3 separate regions of the Homo sapiens genome follow, and all the other regions are linked to region 2. The links are contacts of gene promoters, found by promoter capture Hi-C in blood cells and fetal thymus (Javierre and others, 2016). All regions are on one chromosome and are shown on one strand. Each heading gives the region's core, a stretch centred on a gene start or on the middle of the fragment in contact. The rest is flanking DNA. Distances are from core to core; before and after follow the strand shown. Region 1 overlaps IPO11 (importin 11). Region 2 holds the start of SREK1IP1 (SREK1 interacting protein 1). Region 3 holds the start of KIF2A (kinesin family member 2A).

The links. Contacts are between HindIII fragments. The CHiCAGO score rates a contact against its expected background, and 5 or more counts as called.
Region 1: a contact is called between a fragment that was not itself captured here and the fragment with the promoter of SREK1IP1 in region 2, in 3 of 17 cell types (naive CD4 T cells, naive B cells and total B cells). The highest score is 6.2, in naive CD4 T cells.
Region 3: the fragment with the promoter of KIF2A here is called in contact with the fragment with the promoter of SREK1IP1 in region 2 in 5 of 17 cell types (naive CD8 T cells, non-activated CD4 T cells, total CD4 T cells and 2 more); the score reaches 7.8 in naive CD8 T cells.

The regions. Positions count from the first base shown.
Region 1 is chr5:62,462,246-62,465,964 of GRCh38, reverse strand. All of the region lies in intron 5 of IPO11 (importin 11), which reads right to left. Among named protein-coding and RNA genes, the nearest start is that of IPO11, 51 kb to the right of the region's middle. The HindIII fragment of the contact is 2,418 bases long and covers 716-3,133 here.
Region 2 is chr5:64,767,127-64,770,814 of GRCh38, reverse strand. It overlaps SREK1IP1 (SREK1 interacting protein 1), which reads left to right and starts at 2,124. Exons shown (of 5, transcript NM_173829.4): 1 at 2,124-2,310. The coding sequence starts at 2,298. CWC27 (CWC27 spliceosome associated cyclophilin) reads right to left here and starts at 1,885. Exons shown (of 14, transcript NM_005869.4): 1 at 1,627-1,885. The coding sequence starts at 1,668. It overlaps LOC124900985 (a long non-coding RNA gene), which reads left to right and starts at 2,319. Exons shown (of 4, transcript XR_007058787.1): 1 at 2,319-3,688. RefSeq lists enhancers at 1,389-2,113, 1,832-2,151, 2,302-2,391, 1,543-2,742, 2,114-2,840 and a silencer at 2,079-2,373. The HindIII fragment of the contact is 4,415 bases long and covers 1,783-3,688 here.
Region 3 is chr5:62,304,809-62,308,293 of GRCh38, reverse strand. It overlaps KIF2A (kinesin family member 2A), which reads right to left and starts at 2,088. Exons shown (of 21, transcript NM_001098511.3): 1 at 1,758-2,088. The coding sequence starts at 1,821. RefSeq lists a silencer at 1,355-2,384. The HindIII fragment of the contact is 9,341 bases long and covers 1-3,485 here.

The sequences.
Region 1 (3,719 bases), core at 675-3,174, 2.3 Mb after region 2:
GCTATATGGTCTAGAATTGGCTTCTCAGCAATTAGGCATCCCACAAGTCACATTAGAGTCATCTATCTCCTATTGTTTCTGTGCCATTCTTTCTGGTGTATGAGACAAGGCCCACAGGAAGCTGGCACCTGTAGGTGCTTCCTTTCTCTATCCAAATTAAATAATGAACTGCCTGAATCTAAAAGTGGTTCACTGTATCTTTACAAACTAAATCAGTCAGGGATGCCTTGGCCCTTCCTCATCTTGTGTGTATACTTCACAACAGGTACAATGACTACTCATTAAGCTACTTTAGCATATTCTCAAGTATATATGCAATATTTCAAAGAGTAAAATCAAACTGTTGAATACTAATGTTTTATTACAGCCAAAATACTTTAGTGATCATTCTCTCAATTCATAGTGTTACAACACAAACCACTGTATCATAAAAAGAGTTTGAAAGTGACATTTTCCCATGAAGTAGTATTATAGCAGAGAAGCAAACATTCACTCTGATAGAAGGGAAATAATATTTAAAAAGTGGGAAAAAAGCTTTATTTCAACAAACTTGCATGCTTTACTTATAACTTCAGTAAACCATAAAATGAATTCGTATTTTTCTTAGTAAGTCCTTTTGGAAAATAAAAGACTGAAATACATATCCAGAATTGAAAAAATATCTATCATCCTAAATTTTATTGTACTTACTGTGTAATATACAACACCCTAAGCTTTCCCAACACATACATCATTAAAATATTTTGTCAGAAGAAAGTGAAAGAATACGAACAGAAGGATTTAGACGCAGAAGAGGTAAGAATTCTACAAAACACCTAAAATTAAATTTTAAACTACAGTAAAATTTCTTATTGTAGCAAATATTTCAACTCCCCAAAAATGAAATCTATAGCCTTGGCTATAATTTGTAGATCCGTTTTGTACTGTGTCTTTTTGTAAGAAAACAAAAACTCAAAGGGTGCCATATCCAAATTTCAAATAAGACCAAAAAACTATTATACTTTAAACCGATATCTTGCTTACAACAAAACGACATTTTGAGTAATTTTATAGCTTTTCTTTGCATCTCCTTAAAACTACCTGTTAACATTAATGTCTGTATAGATTAAAATTGTTTAAAAGGACTTTATATTGAAATTTTTTGTGTCGCCATTATCTGAAGTCACTTGAACTCATTTAAAAGGTATGCTCAGACCAGGCGCGATGGCTCATGCCTGTAATGTCAGTGCTTTGGGAGGCAGAGGCAGATGATCACCTGGGGTCAGGAGACCAGCCTGTGCAACATGGCGAAACACGGTCTCTATAAAAAGTACAAAAAAAATTAACCAGGCATGGTGGGGTGCGCCTATACTTCCAGCTACTTGGGGAGCTATGGCGGGAGGATGCCAGGATGCCTTGAGCCCAGGAAGGGAGGCTGCAGTGAGCCGAGATCACACCACTGCACTCCAATCTGGGTGACAAAGTGAGACCCTGCCTCAAAAACAAACAAAAAAAAACGAAGAAAACAACAACAATAAAAAATAACCAGCTGGGCACAGTGGCTCACACCTGTAATCCCAGCACTTTGGGAGGCCAAGGCAGGAGGATCACAAGGTCAAAAGATCGAGACCATCCTGGCCAACATCGTGAAACACTGTCTCTACTAAAAACACAAAAATTAGTTGGGCATGGTGGTACACGTCTGTAGTCCCAGCTACTCGGGAGGCTGAGGCGGGAGAATCCGGGAGGCAGAAGTTGCAGAGAGCAGAGATCTCGCCACTGCACTCCAGCCTGGCGACAGAGCAAGACTGCATCTCAAAAAAAAAAAAAAAAAAAAAAAAACCACCAAAAACAAACACATAGACCAGATGCGGTGGCTCACGCCTGTAATCCCAGCACTCTGGGGGACCGAGGCAGGTGGATCACCTGAGGTCAGGAGTTCGAGACCAGCCTGGCCAACACAGCGAAACGCCGTCTCTATTACAAATACAAAAATTAGCTGGGCGTGGTGGCACGTGCCTGTAATCCCAGCTACTCGGGAAGCTAAGGCAGGAGAAATGCTTGAACCCAGGAGGTGGAGGTTGCACTGAGCTGAGATCACCCCACTGCTCTCCAGCCTGCGTAACAGAGCGAGACTCTGTCATTAAAAAAAAAAAAAAATACAGAAGTAAAAGGTATGTTCAGTATATCAGTATATATTATCTTCTATGCTCTAATGTCTCTTAATACAATAACTAACAATTAACTGCACTGTATAAAAGAGATAAACATTTTTGGTATAACTAAGTTCTGTTTAAACTTTTTTTTTTTTTTGAGACAAAGAGTCTCACTCTGTTGCCCAGGCTAGAGTGCAGTGGCGCAATCACGGCTCACTGCAGCCTCAATCTCCTGGGCTCAAGCAATCCCCTCACCTCAACCTCCTGAGTAGCTGGGACTACAGGGATGCACCACACCAGGTTAATTTATATATTTATTTTTATTTTTTGTAGAGATAGGATCTCACTGTGTTGCCCAGCCTGGTCTCAAACTCCTGGGCTCAAGTGATCCTCCTGCCTCAGCCTCCCAAAGTGCTGGGATTACAGGCATAAGCTACCATGCCTGGCCCTGTTTAAACCTTTTGATATCAAAATATAAAGTACACCCTGGGCATGGTATCTCACAACTGTAATCCTAGCACTTTGGGAGGCTAAGGCAAGAGGATCACTTGAGGTAAGGAGTTGAAGACCCACCTAGGCAACAAAGTGAGACCCTTTTTCTACAAAATGTTTCTTAACAAATTAGCTGGACATGGTGGCACATGCCTGTAATCTCGGCTACTTGCAAGGCTGAGGTGGGAGGATCATTTGAACCCAGGAGTTCAGGGCTGCAGTGAGCTATGATCACACCACAGCACTCCAGCCAGGACAAGAGTGAGACACTGTCTCTAAAAATAAATTGAATGTTTTTCTTATATATACACATATATTCATATACATATAAGTAATATATGTGTGTAAATTAGAACTAGTCCCATTCACTAGTCGTAAGAGCCATAGACCTTTTATCTAATTCTCAATACCCCCCACTACCACTACATGCCAGACTCACTGAAAAAAAAAAAAGGATGGTGACAGTAACTATCCCCTAGTTCCTCAATTAAAAGTAAGATTAAGCTTGAAAAAGAAAAAAAAAAGAGTCAGCCAAATAAAACAGGCACAGGCTCAAGAAAGAAAACATTAAGGGAGAATTTGCCACCCTACATAACCACATATTTTGAAATTGTGTCAGATTTTTCTGAAGTATTTTATAGTGGCCGGGCATAGTGGCTCATGCCTGTAATCCCAGCTACTCAGGAGGCTGAGACAGGAGGATTGCTTGAGCCCAGGAGCTTGAGGTTGCAGTGAGCTATGAGTGTACCATTGAACTCTAGCTTGGGAGACAAAACCCTGTCTGTAAAAAATAAAAACAGTATTTTTTTTAATAATGGTAGCAAAGGGGCAAAACTGTTCTTTTTTTTTTTTCAGGCATTGCTTCTGTTACCAGAATATCTCTTTGCAGAATTCTACCACTTGCATACACACAATGCAAATCACAGTAGACATATTCAACATAAAATCCTCCCCACTCACCTACAAAACAAAGAATAAAAAGTACCAAAGAACATCTCTGAATACTATACCAAAGGTTGTTACTGTGACAAGACTGAATAAAAGGAAGCATTTAAACATGGTGGACTCAAAGTCATTAAAAAAAAATTCTAT
Region 2 (3,688 bases), core at 875-3,374:
ACCAGCAGTATAACCTCAAACTCACTGATGCTTAATACTTCTCAAAAACTAAGAAAAATATAGTATTAATTCATCCATCCATTCATTTATTCAATACCTATCTGAACTCCTTCTATCATGTATCAAGTACTGTTCCAGATGCTTGTCTCTGCCCTTATGTTCCTTACATTCTATAGGGGGAAGGTAGGAGGAAGGATACAGTAATACTAAATAATTAATAAATACCATGAAAAAAACTAAAAAGGTTAAGGGGGCCAGAGACTGCTGGGATGCAAGGCATGATTGAAGTTTGCTATTTCATAGAAAGTAGATAAGAAAGGGCTCTTTGCTAAGGTCAACACTTGATTAGACAGAGGAACAGCAAGTGTGAAGGCCCTGTCTGGCAGGATGGTAAATCTATTCAATCTCTACCAGTGTTTATTAACTGGGGGTGATATTGCCCTCAAGAAACATTTGGAAATAGGAGGAGGTAGGTATTTTGGGTTTTCACATTGATATTAAATAAGATAGGTGAGGGGTGGGATGGACATACTAATCTACAATGCCCAGGAGAAGTTCAAACAAAGAATTGAAAGAATTGGTCTGCCCATAAAATATCCATTACATTTTTGCTGGGAATTACAGCATTTTTGGTTTCACTTTTAAATTGCTCTCATTACATTATCAAATGTCAATGAATAAAAGACTGTATAAATTATTTATGATGCAATCATGTAACAAACAGGATGGTATGTTGTGTAAATTTAGCTTATCTTAATTCAACTATATACTTCCAATCTCATTTTCTCCAATATGCTGATTCATCAAATTTCATATGTGATATAAGCTAGGTCTCAATTTAAGAATTCAGGTGACACTTATTCCACAACAGACTCTTCTGCCTTGTACAGCATACAAACATCTTGGATGGGAATTGGCATACATTAGCCATCAAATCAATCAGAGAAACCTTTCCCCATTCTAATGTGGTAATAGTCCCCATTTCCCACTTTCTCTGACTGACAGTCATCTCAGGTTTTAAAACCAGCTCAAAAGATATCTTTTCCATGAGGCTTTTCCTAACTTCCCCAGTTGTTCACTACTCAGTACCGCCATAGCAACCTGGTCTCTTCTCCACAAGCACGCTTATCAGACATACAGGCTTTTGTTTACCTGTCTGTCTCACAAACTAAACTATAAGCTTTTCCGGGAAAACAACTACCTTACCCATCCATCTTTGTATCTCCGGCGCCTAGTACAGTGCCCAGTGCCTCGCAGGCGTTCAATTAATGATTGTAGAAGAAATGGAGAATGAATGACCTTAGTTAAGCAAAGAATATATCAAACTCAAAAATGTCTGTTTAAAAACCTAAGACCCCAGAAATCGGCTGCATGAGTTGGGTTAAAGCATTAAATAGGACCGGAATGCTGGTAGGTAGAGAAATCTCCACTTGACTTCTTCAAGTACATCCTGAAAAGTACCAACATCAGTGTTTCGATGCAACATTGTCCACATGCAGGAGTAAAGACAACACTTCTCGTGGTCTCTTCCTACCACGAGATCCTGAAACCCACTCCCCACCCCAAATCCGGGAAATCTCACTTTGGGGATCCCAGGACCCCAAGTTCCCTAGATGAGGCTCTCACCTTCCCATTCGTGGGAGGCTCCTGGATGTAGATGTTGCTCATCTTGGTCAGTACAAAGGACTCTGCTCCTTACGGGGGATGAGAGCGGCCGGCCGGCCACTAAAGCTGTCCGCCTACGAGTACACTCTTCCTTAAGTCCAGTGGTGCAGGAAAGCTTCAGTTTGTCAATATCACGCAAGACAGGGACACCAAACACTACCCCTGCCCAAAGGAGCCCCTCACGGACGCCGCCATGTTGTTACCGGACCCGAGCACCGCTAACCCTGAGAAGGGTTATTCCAATGTACTCCAGGGAACGAGAAAAGTCCGTAAAGTTACCATAGCTTAATGTTATTTATGTTATTTGTATTACAATATTAGAAGGGACACTTCATAAGTGTTGGCGGTGTTTACACTACTCTCGTGTGCAGATCAAACTAACTCCCCCTCCAAAACTATCAGTAATGGTTCGGACCATGTGTCTTCTGCAATATGACTCGTCCGGAAACTGCATCCGCATCTACTGGTTCTGCCGTCGCTAGAGGCGTACAGGCCCTTCCCGACCGTAGCGAGGGTGCTGCTGCGCTGGGGGAAGGAAAACGCCGCTTTGACTGTGCCTTGTTCTCACAGCTGGCGGGAAGCAAGCGCCTTTTCGAAAGCCAGAGGCTCGAGTTACCCCTCTTACCACCGTCATGGCAGTCCCAGGTAAGGAGCAATTACAGGGCCTCTGCGTCCGAGCTCCGAAGGGAGCGCAAGGGAGGGTAGGGTAGGGTGCGGCGTGTACGGAGCAGCGCCCATGGGGATTTAGGCGGAGGCCTTAAAATTCACAGGTTTGTTTTGTTTACATGAAAAAGTTTACACTCCAAACATAAACTCTGAAGGAAAGAAAATAACTATCTTCCCCCCAGGAGCCAAGCCCCAGCTGCTTGGGATTACAGGGAAAGTGTATTGTGGAAGGGAGGGAGGAGGGAGAGACTGTAACTGTAGGCCTAAGGGGGCAAGCGGCCGAGAAAAACTACCTTAACTGTGGTATGGCTTAAAACTAAAACTTGAAGTGGGAACACTTGGCCGACCCAGGTAACCGGAGGCATCGTTTGTCTTAGAAGTCGCTAGGACCCACCGGGTGTGCGGGTTCTACTCCTAGCTCTTCCTGTTGTATGTAGCTGCTCCGTGGCCATAGATTGGTCGCTTTGTGCTTCTGGGCCTCAGTTTCCTTATAAAAAGAAGGAGCTTTGTTGAATTATATATAAGATTTCTTCTAACTCTCAAATTCTATGTCCAGAAGTTACTGACCTAAAAACGGTGAACTCTGCAGAATAATTACTTAAAAGATTTTCTCGTCCTCAACTACCAGCTTACTTGGAAGTTCTAGTAGCGGAAAGCATCTCCTCAAACCAGCTTTGCCACTGCAGAACACTGATTGCAGGAGACATTTTCAGAAATACACACTTCTCCACCCCACCTCCCAACTTGGAAATTCCCAGCGCACTTTAGTAATAGAAAAGATTCTATTCTATTAGAATAGAATACTATGAATTGCTATAGAATTACTATGAACTATAGAATTACTATGGTTCAGAACCCTAACTTTGTTTAAACCTGCACTTCCCAGTATTATTTGACCAGGTTCTTTATTCTGTGGCAGCCTTTTTGAACCTCCTTCTACAGATAGCTGTTATTGGAACACTGTGCTTTTGTACTAACTGAAGTTTGCGGAGGAGTACATCTGGAGCTGTGAGAGAGGAAATGTACACTCTTTATTAAGCCTACTGTGTGCCAGGCACTGGTACTGGGCATTGGAAATACAGTGGTGAGCAAGGTAGACATGGTTACGCTTCACACAGAACTTAGAATTTAGCAGTGAAGAGAGAGAAATTTACAGAAAGTGGGACAAGTGCCATGGCAAGGAAAATACAAGACCTTAGCACAAAGTAAGGGCACCAAACACATACAGGATGGGCAGAAGGACTTTCCAAAGGAGGTAGCACTTAGGAGGAGATCTGAATTGTAGGAGGGGTGGCTTGAAGGGAGAGGAGACTGCAGTCGGAGGAACTGGATACGTAAAGGAAGAGGAAATATGTGA
Region 3 (3,485 bases), core at 839-3,338, 2.5 Mb after region 2:
TAACAGCACTCTTTCAAGAAAGTAATCTGAAGAGAAAATATAAAAGAAACCTCAACCCAAGTAAAGAAGGTATCTCTTTCCCATTAGTGTTATTGGTAATTTCTAAAGCTCTAAGCGGTATAATTTATCTTTTCATATACAGGATAACGATGGTTTCAGTTGTTACCACAAATTACTTCAAATATAACGGAGGAAAAAATCATTAGCTATATAGGGTCTTCCAATATATCATACACACAACATGAAAATCAATCTAGCTTCACGTAACTTGGTCAAACCTGGCAGAATCCAAGGGGCACGTGGACGTGACAGCCAAGTTACTACTGACTAGGCTAGGCTAAAGGTTAATAAATAAGGCACTCATAAAAGGAATCGAGGCCAGGCGCGATGGCTCACGCCTGTAATCCCAGCACATTGGGAGGCCGAGGCAGGTGGATCACTTGAGGTCAGGAGTTCGAGACCAGCCTTGTCAACATGGTGAAACCCCGTCTCTACTAAAAATACAAAAAATTAGCTGGGTGTGGTGACAACGCCTGTAATCCCAGCTACTCAGGAGGCTGAGGCACAAGAATAGCTTCAACACGGGAGGCGGAGGTTGCAGTGGGCCGAGATCGCACCACTGCACTCCAGCCTGGGTGAAAATCCGTCTCAAAAAAAAAAAAAAAGGAATCGGTATGAGAGATGGAGTCAGGAACACTGCTCAACTCGAGATTATCACACATCTCTCGTTCTTTCAATATTGGTACCGAAAGAAAATAATTTTACTTATCTCCCTCCGTGCATTTATTCCTTTACAATATGAATTATTTCCAGTCTGGCTGGCGTATCTCACTCCACACCCCAAGCTAGTGTCATAAACCATTTTCCCCAAGAGAAACCTAGAGAAAGATACATAAGCCTAAGGCTCTTAAAAAAAAAAATGAAGCATGTGTCTTCACCTCGCCTTACACTTTTCTCAGTTACCTCTCCCGAGGGTGTGAAAATATCAACATCCGGTCGCCCACCCCCACTCTCTCAGCAGTGCCTCGCATTGACTCTGCCCATCCCCTATCATTCCCTTTACAGTCTCATCACCTTGGAGAAGCCCATCGAATATTTCTTCCCATTGCTCCCCCACCCTTATTCATGGCTCAGCGCGATATTCTCCACATTTTTCTCCCAAGAAGTGGCAAAAAAGAAAGCAGCATGGTCGACGACGAAACCGGGGAGGCCTGACAACCAGACGGCAGTTTAAGGCGACGGAACTGGCTCTTTCCCCCCATCTCGGCCTCCGACCAGCAGTCGGTTCTCTAAATGTGAAATCGCTGGTCTTCCCGCTCCCCCACCCCCATCCCCATCCCCGTCAGAGGCCAAGCCGGTAAAATGCAAAGACCAAGGGGAAGCGCGAGGCAGGGTCATCCCTAACGAAGCCCGCTCCCTCCCGGGCTGGTGTCCCCGGGGGGGGGCTGGAGATTGCGGGAGGAGGAGCGAGCGGCCCTCGCCCAGAGACCCCCGGAGACGCGACCCTCGACACCCGGGCCCTTTCCCCACCCGGCTTCCCTCCCCCGCGGCCCGATCCGGAGAACTGCAGCAGCGCCCGGGCGGACCCCAAGCCGGCCTCACTGGCACACACGCCACACACAAAAGCGCCGCGGCCGCCGCCTTCCCACCCCCACAGCCCGGCGAAGCAATCAATGAGGCGGCCGGCGCCCGCGTCCCCTCCGTGCACACCCGAACACGGGGCCGAGCGGGCCAGCGGGGCTGGCAGCGCGGCTCACCATCGCTGCGCTTGATCTCCACGTAAATCCCGATCTGGATCTTGCCGAAGTTGGCCGTTGCCATCACCTCATCTGGAGCAGCAGCAGCGGGCCGAGGGAGGGGGACCGGAGGGCGGAAAAGGCGGGGAGGGGGCGGGGTAGGTGTGGGAGGGGGAGCGGTTGCCCGCGGCCGCGCCGGCCCGGGCGACAGCGTGAACGCAAGCGGGGCCGCAAGGAGCAGCTGTGGGGAAGCAGGCGGAGGCCCCGGGCCTGCAGGCCGGCAGGAGGACGCGCACGCCGGGTAGTCGGGGTGAAGCTAGGGCCGGGGCCGTGAGACGGCGCGGGGTAGAGTGGGAGGGCCCGCACCGCCCGCCGGGGAGCCGACGCTGGGGAGGCGGGGCGCCGCGCGCCTGCGCAGAGCGCGCCTCCGGCGTCTCTTCTTCCTTTTCGGCTGGCCTCTCCCCGCTGCCTCCAGGCGGCCCCGCCCAGCTCTGCAGCGGGGTGGGCGGCGGCCGCGGCTTACCCAGCCGCTGGAGCGTTGAGCGCTCGGCCCGGCCCACAGCTAGCCGGCGTCGCGTTTGATTTCAGCGCGCGGCCTAGAAGACGCGGGAAGCGTCGCGCCGAGCTTTCTTGCCCTCTCGCTTCCGGGAATTGGCGCTGTTGCCGGAATGGGTTAAAGGCCACGTGGTTTCAGGGGCTTTCTAGCGGGCTGAGGGATGTGAATTCAAGGGCCCTCCGTTGACAGTACGGGATCCGGGTTTTCATCGGAAGGTGGCACCCCCTATTTCCACTTACAGGTAGCTGACCCAAGCAGCCCTCCCAAGCACACTTGGTGTAGGTTTCCCATCCAGTTACGCTGGAAGGGAAGAAACACCCTTGAGGTGTCACCTACCCTAAATCGAAATGAAGATCCACCCCTTTACAGTCTTGCCTTATAGTTTATCACACTCAGAAAGAAGCTCTGTGGTGGGGCGTCCTTAACTGTTCAGGTTATGAGGCATCCGATGCTGGTGCCCTGTTTCTGCTGAGGGTTCAAGACTTACTTGCCTTGGCCTGTAAAGCCAACAACTGTGACTCAAGGGAAGAAGGCAGACACATAAGGTTGACTAGGGAATGTGTCTTTTTGCAATAATTTAATTAGTCTGACCACATCAGCAATGTGGAAAGCAAGACTCTCCATCCTGGCAGAGCAGGAAGGCCACGTGTACCGGGGCCCTGGAAACTGTATTTATAGCACCGTGTGAAAACCTCCAAACGTCTAACTCCTGCTTGTAGTACTGGCAATTGATAGGTTGGAAACAACACTTTTCATGGCCTACTTTCCCTAGTCATTGTTTTTTGTTGTTGTTGTTTTGTTTTGTTTGTTTTTGAGGGGGAGTCTTGCTCTGTCGCTCAGGCTGGAGTGCAGTGGCGCGATCTCCGCTCACTGCAATCTCTGCCTCCTGTGTTCAAGCGATTCTCACGCCTCAGCCTTCCGAGTAGGTGGGATTACAGGCCCGCGCCACCACGCCTGGCTAATTTTTGTATTTTTAGTAGAGACGGGGTTTCACCATGTTGGCCAGGCTGGTCTCAAACTCCTGACCTCAGGTAATCCACCCGCCTCCACCACCCAGAGTGCTGAGATTACAGGCATGAGCCACTGCGCCCGGCCTTCCCTAGTCATTGATAATCTCCCTGTAACAATAACTACAAATATACAATTTAAAATTTTAAAATTGGAAACTGGATATATACATCAATGCTTATGTG